Linked DNA regions of Homo sapiens: region 2 is linked to region 1. Evidence: promoter capture Hi-C in 16 types of primary human blood cells and fetal thymus (Javierre and others, 2016). All regions are on one chromosome and are shown on one strand. The core of a region is centred on a gene start or on the middle of the fragment in contact, and the rest is flanking DNA. Distances in the headings are between cores, read along the strand shown. Region 1 overlaps CDH16 (cadherin 16). Region 2 holds the start of KCTD19 (potassium channel tetramerization domain containing 19).

The links. The method cuts DNA at HindIII sites, captures the fragments that hold promoters and counts their contacts. A CHiCAGO score of 5 or more calls a contact.
Region 2: a contact is called between the fragment with the promoter of KCTD19 here and a fragment that was not itself captured in region 1, in 1 of 17 cell types (M1 macrophages). The highest score is 5.0, in M1 macrophages.

Annotation. Positions count from the first base shown.
Region 1 is chr16:66,911,211-66,913,910 of GRCh38, reverse strand. It overlaps CDH16 (cadherin 16), which reads left to right. Exons shown (of 18, transcript NM_004062.4): 8 at 298-420; 9 at 630-780; 10 at 1,020-1,247; 11 at 1,331-1,407; 12 at 1,481-1,669; 13 at 1,771-2,012; 14 at 2,596-2,700. Among named protein-coding and RNA genes, the nearest start is that of CDH16, 6.3 kb to the left of the region's middle. RefSeq lists an enhancer at 1,464-1,965. The HindIII fragment of the contact is 7,999 bases long and covers 1-2,700 here.
Region 2 is chr16:67,325,307-67,328,006 of GRCh38, reverse strand. KCTD19 (potassium channel tetramerization domain containing 19) reads left to right here and starts at 1,266. Exons shown (of 16, transcript NM_001100915.3): 1 at 1,266-1,302. The coding sequence starts at 1,300. LRRC36 (leucine rich repeat containing 36) reads right to left here and starts at 1,192. Exons shown (of 14, transcript NM_018296.6): 1 at 1,075-1,192. The coding sequence starts at 1,144. RefSeq lists a silencer at 1,150-1,299. The HindIII fragment of the contact is 1,968 bases long and covers 294-2,261 here.

The DNA.
Region 1 (2,700 bases), core at 12-2,511:
AGGAATGTCTCAGGCCTCTTCTAGGAATGCCCTGGGGTCAGGCCCAGGCTGAGAGGGCAGAAAATAAAGTAACATGGTCACTCAAGCACTTTGGGCAGGGTCCAGGCTTGGATCAGGGCAAGGCCACTAACAACATGTGCCCTGAACAGAAGGATCCCACCTGGACTCCAGGCCCAGGGAGGGCAGCACCTTGCCTGGGTCACACAGTTGGGCTCAGGCTCCTCAACGAGAAATCAGATGGGGCGCAAAGGCTGACATGGATTGTTCCTGCCCCTTGGCCCGGGGTGTCCCCCCCAGGTACACTGGAGTGGGGGTGATGTGCACTATCACCTGGAGAGCCATCCCCCGGGACCCTTTGAAGTGAATGCAGAGGGAAACCTCTACGTGACCAGAGAGCTGGACAGAGAAGCCCAGGCTGAGGTGATATGAAGGGGGAGCCAGGGATGCAGGCTGGGGGTGCTTGGTCAGTGTCCAGTTGGCTTTTGGGGGTGTCACAACTACAACAGAGGCTGAGGCAGTGGGAAAGAGCCCCGAAGAGCTGGAGCTGGCCCACCGGAAGGAAACTCAGAGCCAGGCAAGGCTGGAGCTGCCCTTGGTCCTGACCTGAAGCCCCCTACTGCCCACCGCAGTACCTGCTCCAGGTGCGGGCTCAGAATTCCCATGGCGAGGACTATGCGGCCCCTCTGGAGCTGCACGTGCTGGTGATGGATGAGAATGACAACGTGCCTATCTGCCCTCCCCGTGACCCCACAGTCAGCATCCCTGAGCTCAGTCCACCAGGTGAGCTACAGGATGGGAGAGGGACGAAGTCTCTATTAACCACCTGGTCTTGCTCTTCTCTGGGATAAGGACCCAGCCTCAGGCCCCCATGTCAATGTCCCTCCATAACACACACACACACACACACACACACACACACGAGCTCAAATTCAGTTTAGTTTGGCACAAAATAAGGAGTGGGTGGGGTAAGGTCTCCAGGCTGGGCTGTGGTCCTATCCAGGCGGGTGCTGTCTTGGCAGGTACTGAAGTGACTAGACTGTCAGCAGAGGATGCAGATGCCCCCGGCTCCCCCAATTCCCACGTTGTGTATCAGCTCCTGAGCCCTGAGCCTGAGGATGGGGTAGAGGGGAGAGCCTTCCAGGTGGACCCCACTTCAGGCAGTGTGACGCTGGGGGTGCTCCCACTCCGAGCAGGCCAGAACATCCTGCTTCTGGTGCTGGCCATGGACCTGGCAGGCGCAGAGGGTGGTAAGTGCCCTGATTGGTGACCCAGGCCCCCTGTCCCCTCTGTTCCTACCCTGACCTCACCAACACGTCCACCTCTGCCCTAGGCTTCAGCAGCACGTGTGAAGTCGAAGTCGCAGTCACAGATATCAATGATCACGCCCCTGAGTTCATCACTTCCCAGGTAAGCAGACGCAGGGGAGAAGGCCTTGGGAAGGATGCTGGTGGGGGGCTCACCATCCCTCCTCCTCCTCCAGATTGGGCCTATAAGCCTCCCTGAGGATGTGGAGCCCGGGACTCTGGTGGCCATGCTAACAGCCATTGATGCTGACCTCGAGCCCGCCTTCCGCCTCATGGATTTTGCCATTGAGAGGGGAGACACAGAAGGGACTTTTGGCCTGGATTGGGAGCCAGACTCTGGGCATGTTAGACTCAGACTCTGCAAGGTGAGGGCCTGGGTAGCTGGGAAAGGGGCCCACACATGCACGCATGCATGCACATGTGCCTTGCCCAGGCCCGCACAGTGACCTGGGCCTCCTGGTTCCAGAACCTCAGTTATGAGGCAGCTCCAAGTCATGAGGTGGTGGTGGTGGTGCAGAGTGTGGCGAAGCTGGTGGGGCCAGGCCCAGGCCCTGGAGCCACCGCCACGGTGACTGTGCTAGTGGAGAGAGTGATGCCACCCCCCAAGTTGGACCAGGAGAGCTACGAGGCCAGTGTCCCCATCAGTGCCCCAGCCGGCTCTTTCCTGCTGACCATCCAGCCCTCCGACCCCATCAGCCGAACCCTCAGGTGAGCTAAAATCCCAGCCCCTTACCTGGACTGGATTGCCCCTGCTCCCTGGGGATGACCCCAGGGCCTCAGAGGGGACTCACATTATCTGTGGCCTGCAAAATTTCTCAAACTATGGCAAATGCCAAGGTTGTGACTCCTGGCAGGGATCGGGGCTGGATGGACTGGGTGGGGCATGGAGAGGGGTGTTTTGGACCCCATGAGAGCTCAGATTATGCCTCAGCACCTGGAGGGAGGACCAGGCCCTCCTCCAATGCCCCCCAACAGATTGCAGACAGACAAGGTTGTTCATAGACTCTGATTCCCTTGCAGGGTGACCTGGAGTGAGCAAAGTTGAAATGGGCCTCCCAGGCTCTAAGAGTTTCTCCCTTACCCACATGATCTGTTCTTCATCCCACACCCACCACCACCACCACAACAAATCCTGAAGCTGGAGAGAGAGACTGGGCCCCCCAGGCTTTGCTGTGGCCCCTGAGTCACAGAGAGGGTGTGGAATTTAAGCAAGTCACACAGCCCTGGGGGATTCTGAGCAAAACCCTATATGTAGTCCCAGTACCTCCTCACCTCCTTCTTTGGGCGGCAGGTTCTCCCTAGTCAATGACTCAGAGGGCTGGCTCTGCATTGAGAAATTCTCCGGGGAGGTGCACACCGCCCAGTCCCTGCAGGGCGCCCAGCCTGGGGACACCTA
Region 2 (2,700 bases), core at 17-2,516, 410 kb before region 1:
CTTACTTTCACTGTCTCTTCCCCTCAAATATCATTTCCCTTTTTCATCCCACTCCAATCTGGTTTCCCTCCTCCCCACCCTCCCAAAACTCCCTCTGTCAAGGTCACCAGTAAGTTCCATGTTGCTAAATCTAACAGACACTCTGCATTTAAGTTGCTCAGCCTGTCAATAGCATTTGGCACAGTTGGCCATTGCTTGCTCGATACACTACCCCTTCTCAAATTCCAAGATACCACATTCTTCCTCTATACAACCTCTAAACACTGAAATATTCCAAGGTTGAGTCTTAAGCTTTCTTTCACTTCTCCATCGACATTCTCTCCTTAGCTGAGTTCATCCACTCCCGTAGCTTTAAATACCACCTATTGCTAATGTCTCCAAAATTTTCATCTCTAACCCTGACCTCTCCTCTGAGGTCCAGACCCATATATCCAACTGCCTACTAGGTACCTTACACTTGGATGTCTAATAGACATTTTATTATTTATTTATTTTATTTATTATTATTATTTTTGAGATGGAGTCTCGCTCTGTCGCCCAGGCTGCAGTGCAGTGGTGCGATCTCGGCTAACTGCAACCTCCGCCTCCCGGGTTCAAGCGATTCTCCTGCCTCAGCCTCCCGAGTAGCTGGGATTATAGACTTGAACCACCACGCCGGGCTAATTTTTGTATTTTAGTAGAGACGGGGTTTCACCATGTTGGCCACGCTCAGGTGATCCACCCGCCTCCGCCTCCCAAAGTGCTGGGATTACAGCGGTCAGCCACCGCCCCCCGCAGTTCTGTCACCTGCGGCAGGGTCCCCTGTTAACCTTGTTTCTCCTTCCCTACTTCACACTCCCCTCTTCTCTCTCAATTCCTCGGGCTCTGCCCCACACCCTCCCGTTACTTCAGTTCCTCCACCTCCACCTCCCTCTAACCTTCTGCCTCAAGTTATCCCCCCGCCCCCCAGCCTCAGGTACCGCTTCTCTGTGGTTCCCTCGCCTCTATCTCAGGTTCCCCGCCTTCCACTTCAGTTTTCTTTCCACAGCTTCTGACCCTACGTTCCCAGTCCACACCCTCCCGGCCAGACCCTACCCGGCTGCTCCAGCGTCAGCGCCCCCAGGCGGCGAATGCCTTCCTCGTCCAGCTCCCATTGCTCCGCCATCCCCGCCCGCCGCTCACCTGCCACCGCCCGCGAGACCACCCGGCGCACGCCAGGCCCCGCCCACTGCCCCGCCCCCCGCGCGCGCGCCGCCGCGACCCCGGGAACCGTTATTGGCCGGGTCACAAGCCCGCCCGCCCGCTGCTGGAGCCGCGACCATGGTACGGAGCCCGCTCTGGCGGGGGCGCCAAAAGCACCAAAGCGGCGAATGGGGGCCGCTGTGGCCAAGGATTGGGGCTAAGTGGTTCGAGACCTGGCTCTGGGGCATGGGAGAGAGCGAGGGGCCCCCAGCCGGGAAGGATTTGGGGGGCTGGCTCTGAGGAGTTAGAATAACGCTCTGTCTTGAGGGATGAAGTGTTCTGGCTCTGAGGATGTGGGGGACTCCGGTTCTGAGGGCTGGGCGTGTGCCCCTTTGACGGGGTGGTCTTCATATCTCAGCGCTGGGGGATGCTGACTTTGGGGCAAGGCGAGGGTGTGTGTGAAGGGGAGATCCAAATCTGAAGGATTGGAGCGTGGGGACAGAACTCTAAGGCATGATGGGGAGCTCCAGATCTGAAAGGTTGGGAATCCTGGCTCTGAGGAGTTGGGGTCCTGTCTTTAGAGCATGAGGAAGTTCTAGCTCTAGAAATTGACTTGGACGGGCTGGGCGCGGTGTCTCACGCCTGTAATCCCAGCACTTTGGGAGCCCGAGGTGGGCGGATCACCTGAGGTCAAGAGTTCAAGACCAGCCTGGCCAACATGGTGAAACCCCATCTCTACTAAAAATACAAAAATTAGCCGGGTGTGGTGGCACGGCCTGTAGTCCCAGCTACTCGGGAGGCTGAGGCAGGAGAATCGCTTGAACCCGGGAGGTGGAGGTTGCAGTGAACCGAGATTGCACCACTGCACTCCAGCCTGGGCGACCTGAGTGACAGAGCCAGACCTTGTCTCAAAAAAAAAAAAAAAAAAAAGGTAAGAAATTTACTTGGACGGAGCTTCTTCGGGGGAGAAGGATCAGCGTGGGAAAGAGAGAAGCTCTTTGTAATGGGGTGGGGATGACTGCTTTAGGGCTACCCCGTTTCCTGAAGTCAGTCCGGCAAGAAGCCTTTTGTCTTTCAAGCACCACAGGTTCCCCTAAGCTTGCCTGTGACTGAGGGCTGTCGCCAGGCTGCGATAGCTCTGCACTAACCAGCCCCTGAGTAGTCTTTGGGAAAGAACAGCCGCATCCCTAACCCCTACCCTCACTCCAGCAGGCACTTAAGAGCCCACCTGTGGATGGGACATGTATGTAAGAAGGAGCCAGGACCCTCTTGTCACACCCTATCCTTAACAAGAAAAGAGGGTGGGCTGGGCGTGGTGGCTCACGTCTGTAATCCCAGCACTTTGGGAGGCCGAAGCATGTGGATCACGAGGTCAGGAGATCGAGACCATCCTGGCTAACACAGTGAAACCCCATCTCTACTAAAAATACAAAAATAAAACAAAATAAAATAAAATAAAATAAAATAAAGCCGGGCGTGGTGGCGGGCGCCTGTAGTCCCAGCTACTTGAGGAGGCTGGAGGCTGAGGCAGGAGAATGG